2 separate regions of the Homo sapiens genome follow, and region 1 is linked to region 2. Evidence: promoter capture Hi-C in 16 types of primary human blood cells and fetal thymus (Javierre and others, 2016). All regions are on one chromosome and are shown on one strand. The core of a region is centred on a gene start or on the middle of the fragment in contact, and the rest is flanking DNA. Distances in the headings are between cores, read along the strand shown. Region 1 overlaps TMEM18-DT (TMEM18 divergent transcript). Region 2 holds the start of RPS7 (ribosomal protein S7).

Region 1 (5,571 bases), core at 447-2,946, 2.9 Mb after region 2:
AGGGAGACCTCAGGAAACTTACAATCATGGTGGAAGGTGAAGAGGAAGCAAGGTATGTCTTACTTACATGGCAGCAGGAGAAAGAGAGAGAGTGAGGTGGGAAGTGCCACACTTTTAAGCCATCAGAATTCATGAGAGCTCACGAGACCACCATGGAGGAAATCCTCCCCCATGATCACATCGCTTCCCACCAGGCTCCTCCCCTGACATGTGGGGATTACAATTTGACATGAGATTTGGGTGAGAACACAAAGCCAAACCATATCACCATCCAAAAAATAAAGGAAGCAGCACTGTGTTTTCCATTTACATTACATCAACATGTGCAGAAAATATTTGTAAATAAACAGTGTTGGTCTCATGAACTAAAAAGAAAAGAGATAAAAAGAGGACCCCCTGAGGACAGCAAGATAAACACCTTCATCTTTAGAGGAGGCAACAACATTCGAGTCCTAATGGTTGGTCTTTATTAGGCATGTGCCATGTGCCTGGCACAGAGCTGGGCATTTAAGGCATTTCATCCCAAATCCTTAAAACCACACATTAGAAAAGTATTATTGTCCTTATTCTCACAAAGGCAAGCTGAGGCTTTGATAATCAAAAAACAGTATTCTAAGGTCATTCCAAGTGAGAACTCATATTCACATAAAATCTTCCCTGATCTAAGGTCCATTTTCTTTTTGATATTCCACAAGCTTATAAAATTTGAGAGAAGAAAATGGAAAGAGAACCAAGTTCTGTCTGTGCTCAGTGGTACCCTTGGTGGTGTTGTGGGCCAACTTGTGTCCCCAAATTTATATGTCAGGTCCAAACCCCGCATCTCAGAAGGCTGCAGTGATTGGAGACGAGGCCTTTGAAAGGAAAGTGAGTTAAATGAGCATATAAGGGTGGGCCTCGATCCTACCTGACTGGAGTCCTTATAAGAAGAGAAGATCAGGACAAAGACACACACAGGAGGATGACCCTGTGTGCACATGGGGAGATGTGTCTGCAAGCCAAAGGGAAAGGCCTCAGAAAGAACCAACCTGTCAATGTCTTAATAATGTTAGACTTTTGGCCTCCAGAACTGTAAAGAAATAAGTTTCTGCTGTTCAAGCTGCCCAGGCTGTAGTGTCTCATTATGGTGGCCCAGGAAGTCATACAGTAGTGCAGAAAGTCAGAGAACCACAGCAATTCCTAAGGAAGGACCACTTCACGTGAAGATTGGCATAAACTTCCCTGAATACCAACATCATTACAAGACACATCAGCCTAAACTTATCAACATATGTCAAGATGTGAATTTGCACCAATGAGAAATGTACACTGGGCAGGCTAAATCCTGCCAGCTTCATTCTCTATGAGTGTGTAAATTTCTGAAGATTAATTTTTATGTCAGAGAAACTGCCCTAACAATCAATGAACTCCAAAGACCAATCTGCATATTAAAGCCTCAGGAATAATCCCCTGATTTTGGCTTCTCATCTCAAGCAGGCGTTTCATACTTGTACCATCCATCCTGGGGACTTTTGTCTCTCTGTGATGCCAGGAGAATAGCAGGTACACCTAAGTGAACACAAGGTAAACCATACCCAGCAGGGTAGCCTGGGTCTTTTAATTCAGTAAGAATGAGCTATGATTGCTTTAAGTGGAACTGGAAATTTCATTGCCATTTAACAACTGCATTTAAAATTACACTTGAGTGAGCTAGAGTGCATTACAAACAAGTAGGATGGTAAACCCCAGTAATCACTGTCCAGTGTCTGGGACACCCACAAGTCTTCCCTACCTGCCCTGAATTGTTAGAGAAAATAAAAGTGGCTGCCTTGAAGGTAGCCAGAGGCCCCAAGGTTATAGGAGAGCAGAGATTTGCCCCTGCTGGCTCTCTGAGAGGGTTGCCATAGAGACAGAAGGAAAGATGAGTCCAGCCTGTATAAGTTGGGCACAGCCAGTCAGGCATAGAACAGACATGGGCAGGAAGCTGCAAACCTTGCCTTCGTGTCCCTAGTGTGAGCCATTTTCAGTGATCAGAAAAGTTGCTTTGGAGTCCTTGATGTTTCCAACCCATTGTATTAGTCCATTCTCATGCTGCTATAGAGAACTGCTCAAGACTGGGTAATTTATAAAGAAAAGAGCTTTAATTGACTCACAGTTCCTCAGGGATGGGGAGGCCACAGGAAACTTACAATCATGGCAGAAGGGGAAGCAAACACATCCTTCTTCACGTGGCGGCAGCAAGGAGAAGTGCCCAGCAAAAGGGGGAAAAGCCCCTTATAAAACCATCAGATCTCATGAGAACTCACTCACTATTAGCAAAACAGCATGAGGGTAACTGCCCCCATGAATAAACTACCACCCATGGGGTCCCTCCCATGACACATGGGGATTATGGGAGCTACAATTCAAGATGAGATTTGGGTGGGGACACAGGCAAACTGTATCACTCATTAAGGAGGGTTAGAATAAAAATGCTATGACAAACATCTTGGAATTTCTGTAGGCATGAATTCAGAGGTTGAAAGGCCATATTTGGGCAAAACCCTCAGATACTGCCTCCTCAGTGTGTTACTTTTGGAGAGAAATGATTATTTCCTAATAATCTCCTACTATACAAAAGAATTTTCTAATTAGAGGAAAAGGGAGGGATAGCATTTTTCTTGGGTAGGGAGGGAGAGGGAAGAATGCATCTGAGTGCTGGTGCAAATCACACAAGCTTTGGAATTGGCCAAGTCAGACACCAAACTATGCTTCCAGCGCTCACGAGCTATGTCCTTTCAGACAAAGGATGCTACTTCTGAGCCTCAGTTTCCTCACGGCAATGTGAGTAGAGTAACACCTCTCCTACAGGGCAGCATAGAAGCATTTAGGGAATGTGTCCATCTCTGGATTTCTGCTTCCCATGGTGGCCAAGTGAGCCCGTCTAATGTCACTCTCCTGCAGGGAATATCTAGACAATGAGCAAATATAAAAAGTGAGTGGAGATGAAAAGCATGGATTATGGGAGGGGAGTGTGATGTGTGGAAGAAACAAAGGGAAAGAGGGCTTTTATGGTTTTTAGCTTAGGGTGAGTCTGACGCCATGCCATGCGGAGTTGCCAAAACACCAACAGGAAACCCTTGGTCTTTCCCTCCTGAAGAAATTGGGAATATGCCTGCTAAAAATTGAGAAGGAAGGAGAGAATCAGAGATGGAGAACCCCAAATTCTGTGTATAACTTCCATCCAGAACTCCAGTTGACATCCGAACGCTGAATGTGTGAGGCAAACTCCACGAAACACAAGAAGGATAAAAGAACCAAATTAAGAATTCAGCTGCTGTTCAACAGGCAGTTTGCAGTCTGTCAAACCAACTTAATGGTCTCATCACACACACGCGTGCGCGTGCATGCACACACACACACACACACACACACACACACAGCTGGAAAAAATAACAGAGCCCAGACTCTCCACGACATGATATTTGCAATGCCCAACAAGTCATGCTAAATTATCCACAATTGCAGAACCGGGGAAGTGTGGCCACCGCTCTAGCAAACAGACACACTCAGAATCAGAACAATCCCCTTGCTGTGCTCAGAGGTGGAGCTTCCTGCTGTATCCCTGCTCAGTGACGGGAATCAGGGCCTGCACCCACCACCAGGATGAATCCTGCCTTGCCGCGATTTTACAGCTGCAGCGAAGGACAGTTCTGCAATCATGGGAAGTCTAATGTTCAGTCCTCATCTAATAAAGAGAAGAAAAAGAATGAGAGAGAAAAAATGAAGAAATAATGCTAAAAATTAACAATATAAATTCACAGAATCAAGAAATTTATCAAACACAAGCAACATGAATACAAAGAAAACTAATTCTAGGCACATCGTGGTCAAACTGCTGAAACCAAGATAAACAGAATATTCTGAAAACAGAAAAATGACATGTTATCTATGGGAAAATGAGGATTAGAAACATCACTGCTTTTCTACAAGAAACTATGGCAGACAGAAGGCTGTGGAATATCTCTCATGTGGTCAAAGAAAAGAAAGAAAAGCAGTATTCAACAATTCACAGAAAAAATATCCTTTAAAATGAAGACAAAACAAGAGCATTTTTCAGATGAAGTCGATTCATCCCCGACAGATCTGAACTGCATGGGATGCTTATGGCAATTCTTTAGTCTGAGAGGAAATGATACCACCTGAAAATGCTCAGAAAGGAATGAGAGCTTTGGAAATGGTAAATTAAGCATTGCTGTCAAATGCTTTATTGTAAACCGCATTGTACAAACTGACAGAGGCATCAGATTTCACATCAGGGTCAAACTGGTGCAGCCCAGAGACACAAAGGGAGGAACCAGGAACCCGCACAGAAGCTGCCCGGGGTCGTAGACCCAGCCCGTGAGGTTGGTGTCCTGCAGGATGTTGCTGAGCTTGGCAAGTTCAATGGGGATAAATGGAGAACACAGTGGTGGAGATAAGGGCACTTCTGTGGCCTGATTCGCATCCAAGACATCGAAACTGAGGGCGCCCAGAGTCCAGCTCTCAGGGATCTCAGTTATTGGCCATGATGTCTTCAGGAATGAAACCTCTGGGCTCACACCATTCTTTGGGTGTGCTACAGTGTTTAAACCTTTCCTGAGATGCACCCTGCCGTCCCCTAGGGTCCGACCCTCCTGGGCTTTCTGGCACTGTCTGAGCTGTCACCAGGCCAGGGGTCTGCACCTGGCACCCCGGCTGGCATGGGGCTATGGAGGCCAGGTCCAGGGGGTCCTGCCCATGTCAGCCTGGCTGTGGCTCTTCCTAGACAGACGCCCCTCCCAAGGCTGCCTCTGGGTCACAGGGCACAGACCTGGTCTTGGTACCTCTCCTTTCCTCCATAACTCCTCATTGCTCCCACAGCAACAGGTAACTCTCCCCTGTGGTCTCTCCATCTAAACAATCAGCTGCCTGCTGGGACCTGAGCAATGCAAAGAACAAGAAAGCTATCAAGTACTGGCTTTAATTTGTAGAAAACATTACAGCTCACAAACTTATTTTACCCATTAATAAAGCTCTTGAAAACCAATTGTATGTGGATTAAATAGCTATTTTAGAAATAAACAAAATTGGGCCAGGCGTGGTGGCTCACGCCTGTAATCCCAGCACTTTGGGAGGCCAAGGCAGGCGGATCATCTGATGTCAGGAGTTCGAGACCAGCCTGGCCAACATGGTGAAACCCCGTGTCTACTAAAAATACAAAATTAGCCTGGCATGGTGGCACACGCCGGTGATCCCAGCTACTCGGAAGGCTGAGGCAGGGAGAATCGCTTGAACCCAGGAGGCAGAGGTTGCAGTGAGCCGAGACCCTGCCACTGCACTCCAGCCTAGGCAACAAGAGCAAAACGCAAAAAAAAAAAAAAAAAAAAAAAAAAAAGGAAAGGGAAGAGAAGAGAAGGGTGGCGAGGGAAGGGGAAGGGAGGGGAGGGGCTTCATCCAGTCTTTTCTGGAAGCACAAAATTCCAGGTAAATGGAATAGAGTCCATGTCAGCATTCACATACCAACAGAGAGAGCAGGCCATGTTCTACTGGCCACATTAAAATAGCAAAGAGAAAGAGATTAATTTTATTGATATA
Region 2 (6,266 bases), core at 1,451-3,950:
CATGAATACATGTATGTTTTACATCTAGAATTCTAAAACGTATCATGTGCAACTATACAGGAAACCAAATGCTGCTACTCAAAAATTCCCACTTGAACATCTGTTTTCATAAACTACAACTTAAACAAATTAAGAGTTGTTAATAAGAGGGGTACACACATTTCTGAAACTACTAAAATACTCACCTCCTGGGACGCTTTTGCTTATTTTTTGTACGGCTTTTTCGAGTTGGCTTAGGCAGAATTCTCCTCTGTAAGGTAAAAATTATCATGTAACAAAATGAAAAAAGACTTTAAATTGACAAAAAGCTGTAACTGCCATACTGCTTTAAAAGCAAGAAGAATGGCAGGGTAAGTTCAAAGTTCGAGAAGGCTAAACAACTTAGACGAACAATTGACTGAGCAAACCCTTCTATGGAGTTACTTCCTGATTCTTGAATAAATCATTCAGAATCCACAGCCTCTACTAATACGCCAGTGGACAAAATCTCCCAGATACGCCTTTCCCCATGCCTATGACCCAGAATACTACTTTTATTCCAGATCAATCCTGGCACTTCATTCCCCATAGACTTCAGTTTGCACCAATCCCCCATCCGAACTGTAACAGGTTTCTTCTTTTTTTGAGATGGAGTCTCGCTCTGTCGCCCAGGCTGAAGTTCAGTGGCGGGATCTCGGCTCACTGCAAGCTCCACCTCCCGGGTTCACGCGATTCTCCTGCCTCAGCCTCCCGAGTAGCTGGGACTACAGGCGCCCACCACCACGCCCAGCTAATTTTTTGTATTTTTTAGTACAGACGGGGTTTCACCGTGTCAGCCAGGATGGTCTCGATCTCCTGACCTCGTGATCCGCCTGCCTCAGCCTCCCAAAGTGCTGGGATTACAGGAGTGAGCCACAGGGCCCGGCCTGTAACAGGTTTCTTAGTTTGATCATCTATGTAAGCAACCCACTAGACTTGTGGAAATTTAAATATGGGAAATCATTTTCATAACTCAAAACACAGCAGTCTGTCACTTTACAGACTTCTTGTTTCGACTCTTAATTAAAGAACGTACTTTATCTTTCTTTTTAAAACTTATTTTTTCTATTTTTTGTAGACAGGGTCTTACCATGTTGCCCAGGCTGGTCTCTACAGTGATCCACCCGCCTCCACCTCCCCGTGCTGGGATTACAGGCCTAAGCCACGGCGCTCTGCCTGTACTTTATCTTTCTACCCAATTGGATTCATAAAAGGATTGTTTTCATGACTCCAACTACCAATGCAGTCTAAATACAAGCAATTTTAGCAAAATTCACAAACAGAAACGTGCTGCAACAGTAGAACAGATACCTGAGCGATAAAGACGACATGCTTCCCACTGAACTTTTTCTCCAATTCGCGTACTAGCCGGACTTGGATTTTCTGGAAAGATTTCAGTTGAGGAACGGGAACAAAGATTATGATAGCTTTCCGACCACCACCAACTTCAATTTCCTAAAGAAAAAAACAAAAATCCACTGTGTTAACTGCTTCAGAAAGTAAACGTTGTGGTCAAATTAGAGGATAAGAAGACCTTATCACTAACACCGTAGCTGCACTACAAACTAATACTAGTTTTGAGTTAATCATAAATGCATCCTTCGGAAATGTTCTCATCTCTCTCCAACCTTCACATTTCCTTATTCCAGGAAGGGAGACTGTTCAGGCCAGGAGGCCAATCACTACCACTTCTGCACCCCCACTTGCGGCAACTCCGGGCTAAGGGTAGAGAGAATCTCATCCTGAGCTCCCCACAGCTCTTTGCCGTATCTATAACTAAGTAAGGGCAAATAAGGTCCGAAATGGGCCCAGGCCCTCCCTACTCCACGTTTCTCCACCGCCCGCATGTGGACAGCTTAAGCCGCAGGGTACCTGCAACCCCACTCCCCGCACCTGGGCGGTATCACTCCCAAACAACACGGCCGAACCTGAGTTCAGGTTAGGCGGCCAGGCGGCAAGTCATCATCAACCGTAACCCAGGTCCAACCCTCTCAGGCACTGCGCGGGGAGACGCGCCGCAACCTCCCTCCCAGCCGAGGGAGCGCCAGCTTACCTTAGCTGCCGTAATATTCAGCTCCCTGAGCTGAGCCTTGAGGTCCGAGTTCATCTCCAGCTCCAGAAGAGCCTAAGAAGCAACGAACAGCAGGACCGACCCTGAGCGCGCGTCCGAGCACCCCGGGCCCAACACACGCGCGGCCGCCTCCCCTCCCGGGCGGGGCGCCTCCCCCCACCCCAGACCCCAGGGAAACCCTCTCACCTGGGAGATGCCGGACTCGAACTCGTCCGGCTTCTCGCCATTGGGCTTCACGATCTTGGCGCTCGAACTGAACATGGCTTTCTCCTGGGAGAACTGAAGGCACAGCGGTCAGCGTTACGCGGCCCGGGCTGCAGGCGCCGCTGGCTCGCCCTCCCGCCCGCACCCCCCGGCCAGGCCCCGCTCGCCCCGCAGAAGCCATCGGAAAGCACAGGGCGGGTAATCGGCTGTATCCCCACCCTGTGAGCAAGGCTCGCCCCTCCAGGGCCTGACTCCAAAAGGCGTTTTCCTCAACCCAAGAAGAAAAGTTCTGTCGGAGAGCAGGCCGCCAACCTACCTTGCCGAGCGCCGGCTTAGGAAGAGACCCAAATCTCGCGAGAGCACGTCAAAATCCGGCGTCCGAAGGCAAGAGGCGGAAACAGCGCGAGGAGGAGGGCGGAAACCGGAACATCACTGAGAAGCGGTAGGAGGCTAGAGAGTCCCAGGAAGCGGCTCTGGGGACGAGTGTCTTGGTAACGCTTTTCCGCCCTAGGATTCGTACTTTGGTGCCGTTTCCGAGCGTTCCGGTACCGGCTCCCAAGGTTCCCGTCTTCAGTGCAGGTTGCAGGCGGGAACCGGCCTCGTCCCAGCCCTGGGCCTGGGAGAGAGAAGGAGGCCGAAGAAAACCAACTTCGGCAACCTCCGGAGACAGGACGTTTAAAAAAGGCTAACTTGGCTGGGCGCTGAGGCTCACGCCTGTAATCCCAGCACTTTGGGAGGCCGAGGCAGGAGGATCACTTGAGCTCAGGAACCAGCCTGGGCAACATGGCGAGACCCCATGTCTACAAAAAAAAAAAAAAAAAAATTAGCCAGTCATGGTGGTGCGCGCCTGCAGTCCCAGCTACCCCGGAGGCCGACGCGGGAGGATCGCTGGAGCCGAAAGGTCGAGGCTGCCGTGAGCCGAGGTTGCACCACTGCACTCCAGCCTGGGCGACAGCGCAAGACCCTGTCTAAAAATAAATTTAAAAAAAATTGCGAGGCCTTCATTCTATGCTAGTACTGTACTAGGTGCTAATTATTAAGTAAAACCGACTGAACTCTTGCCCTCATGGAGCTTACAGTTCAGTGGAGAAGACATTACCTAAAGCAGTATGACTAAATATATAATGACATATTGTAATAACTTACATAACAGTACAATGAGAGGGTGGGGAGGGATTATTTATGCTTTAAGAAGTCGGGAATCCTGGAACGGAATGACATTAGACTGAGACACGGAAGAGCCGCAGGATCTATTGCTGGGGAAGAGCATTCCAGACAGGGAGGAACTCGTGCCGAATGATCCCGCTGTGGACAGGGAATTTAATCTGAGCTTCGGTTTCCTCTTCTGTCAAATGTCATGCAAGAGTTACTTTCAGCCGTGGTCCAGGCACTGTGAAAAATGCAGAAGCCACACTAGGTGCCCTCTCTCAGGATTCCCAACCACCTTTACCAAGCAGAGATGGTATTCATCCCACATTTTTAATGCTAGATATGCTCCCGCCCGGTGCTTCTCTAATAATGTTTTTTAAAAGGTAAGTGACTGTCTCCTTGGAAAATTAAGGATAACTTGAAGTTTCTTCCAGATAGAAAGTAAACTACAGCTGCGTCTACAATCTCATCTGGGCAGTCGTTCTGAGCCCTTTTGTCGAACTAGGTCCATTTCCTTACTCCACATGCACTTTTCGACCTGGCTTTTATCTCTGCTGCTCTATAAAAGTAGTAATCTAAAAGTTCATCCAGTAAAGCTTTTTCTCTGTGAACCTATCACTTGAGAACAAAAAAAATTAAAGTTATTTCTGGTTTCCAGTCCTTTGTTGAATAGGAGTGGTGAGCAAGGACATCCGTGCCTTGTTCTCCATCTTAGGGGAAAACCATTCAGTCTTTCACCATTAAGTATAATATTAGCTCTAGGATTTTGCAGGTATTTTTAATCAAATTCAGGAAGTTCCCTCTGTTTCTATTTCTGAGAGGTTTTTTTAAAATCATGGGCCGGGCACGGTGGCTCACGCCTGTAATCCCAGCACTTTGGGAGGCCGAGGCGGGTGGATCACGAGGTCAGGAGATCGAGACCATCCTGGCTAACACGGTGAAACCCCGTCTCTACTAAAAATACAAAAAATTAGCTGGGCGAGGTGGCGGGCGCCTGTAGTCCCAGCTACTCGGGAGGCTGAGGCAGGAGAATGGCGTGAACCGCCGGGGGCGGAGCCTGCAGTGAGCCGAGATCGAGCCATTGCACTCCAGCCTGGGTGACAGCGAGACTCCATCTCAAAAAAAATATATAAATAAAAAATAAAATAAAATCATGAATGGATGTTGGAGTATGTCAAATGCATTGTTTCTATGAACTAATATGATTATGTGAGTTTTTCTTTTTAGCTGTTAATGTGCTGTTAATATACATAAATGCTTTTCCTTTCTAACTCTTTAGCTTTGAGCCTCATGAGATCCTAAGAAATGTGATTTTTAAAACCTAGAACCTGATAGAAGTTGATAGAGGTTGCACATGTATTTTTAATAGGTAGTTTCAGGATCATAATCACAACTTAGAGGGTCATTCTACTAATTTTATGTTAGGAAATGCCTACTAATCATTACATTAGATTGTTTTCCTGGTTTTACTAGTACTAGCTTCTTTATTATTTAACCATACAATAAGTGAGTCGATAATACCAACATGATTGACAATGAACAGAAATATCATCTATGCAATCCACTTACTTTTAGAACACTTTGTTAACTCTTTTATGTATCATTATGGACATGGGACATTTCAGATTTGCTGTACATCAATCAGTCTCAGCCAATATTCTCCTTTGATCCTCAAATTGTCTCAGTTGTGACCAGGAGGGGCCCCTCTTAGATAAGCAGCCGAGTCTTGTCATTTCTATGAATGTCTGAACATCTTGTTTTCTGGCACAAGATATTCCAGGCTCCTCTTGTAATTTTCTGCCTGAGACATAGAATGAGCCTTTTCTCCTAGAAGTGCTGATACTTTTGTTTTTGTTTTTCTGGAAAAATAGTACTGGAGACCAGAATTTTGGCAGCAGGAGGCATCGTGGGGCTCCTCATAAGCCGTTTCAGCGGACAGAACTTAGAAAGATGGCATTTAAAATAATTTTTTCATAAAAGATACAAGTTCACATTGACATTCTCAATCCACTTCTAACAGAACAATTCCTTCTGAAATCCTCGATTCTATCATAGCATCTCCTTTTCTCCTGTAATAAAAACCTTGCTTCCTAAACACAAAAATACAATTACTTGCTTTATCTGACACTATGAGAAAATACATTCAAAATAACAATGCAGGTGGGCCGCAGTGGCTCACACCTGTAATCCCAGCACTTTGGGATAATCCACCCAGGGTGAGTGGATCACTTGAGGTCAGGAGATAAGCCTGGCCAACACAGGGAAACCCTGTCTCTACTAAAAATACAAAAATTAGCCAGGTGTGGTGCCACCCGCCTGTAATCCCAGCTACTCGGGAAGCTGAGGCAGGAGAATCGCTTGAACCTGGGTGACATGAACTCCTGACCTCATGTGATCTGCCCACCCTGGCATCCCGAAGTGCTGGGATTACAGGTGTGAGCCACCATGCTCAGCCCTTGTTGACTTTTGAATATGTGAAACACTCTGCTTCTGAAAGTCAAAGCCATCTAAGGAGGTCACTCCCTTGAGAAGGCCACACTCCACCGGCCCCTGCCTTCCCTCCTGCACCCAACCTTGCTTTCTGGTTCATGCTTCCTGGGTTTCTTTTTGCTTGAATGTATATTTTCTTACCTCTCCTTCATTCTTACACAAAAGCAGGATTTGATTTTTGCATTTTGTGTTCGCCTAAACATATTTCCTGGAAATCCCTCCATGTCAGTTCAGGAGACCTCCCTCATGCTTTTTCACCACGGCGTCGCTCTCCGCTGGGCTGTCAGACCACTTTCACCCAGCCCGTGTTCTGTGGAGACACTTGGACTGCATC

Evidence for each region. The method cuts DNA at HindIII sites, captures the fragments that hold promoters and counts their contacts. A CHiCAGO score of 5 or more calls a contact.
Region 1: a contact is called between a fragment that was not itself captured here and the fragment with the promoter of RPS7 in region 2, in 1 of 17 cell types (monocytes). The highest score is 7.4, in monocytes.

The regions. Positions count from the first base shown.
Region 1 is chr2:679,388-684,958 of GRCh38, reverse strand. TMEM18-DT (TMEM18 divergent transcript) reads right to left here. Exons shown (of 3, transcript NR_183417.1): 2 at 4,808-4,915; 3 at 2,096-3,703. Among named protein-coding and RNA genes, the nearest start is that of TMEM18, 4.8 kb to the right of the region's middle. The HindIII fragment of the contact is 1,997 bases long and covers 698-2,694 here.
Region 2 is chr2:3,571,694-3,577,959 of GRCh38, reverse strand. It overlaps RPS7 (ribosomal protein S7), which reads right to left and starts at 2,700. Exons shown (of 7, transcript NM_001011.4): 1 at 2,610-2,700; 2 at 2,276-2,368; 3 at 2,072-2,143; 4 at 1,330-1,473; 5 at 186-250. The coding sequence starts at 2,350. It overlaps LOC124907726 (a long non-coding RNA gene), which reads left to right and starts at 2,851. Exons shown (of 2, transcript XR_007086196.1): 1 at 2,851-3,825. RefSeq lists a silencer at 2,154-2,443 and enhancers at 1,995-2,571, 2,572-3,147. The HindIII fragment of the contact is 5,628 bases long and covers 1-4,040 here.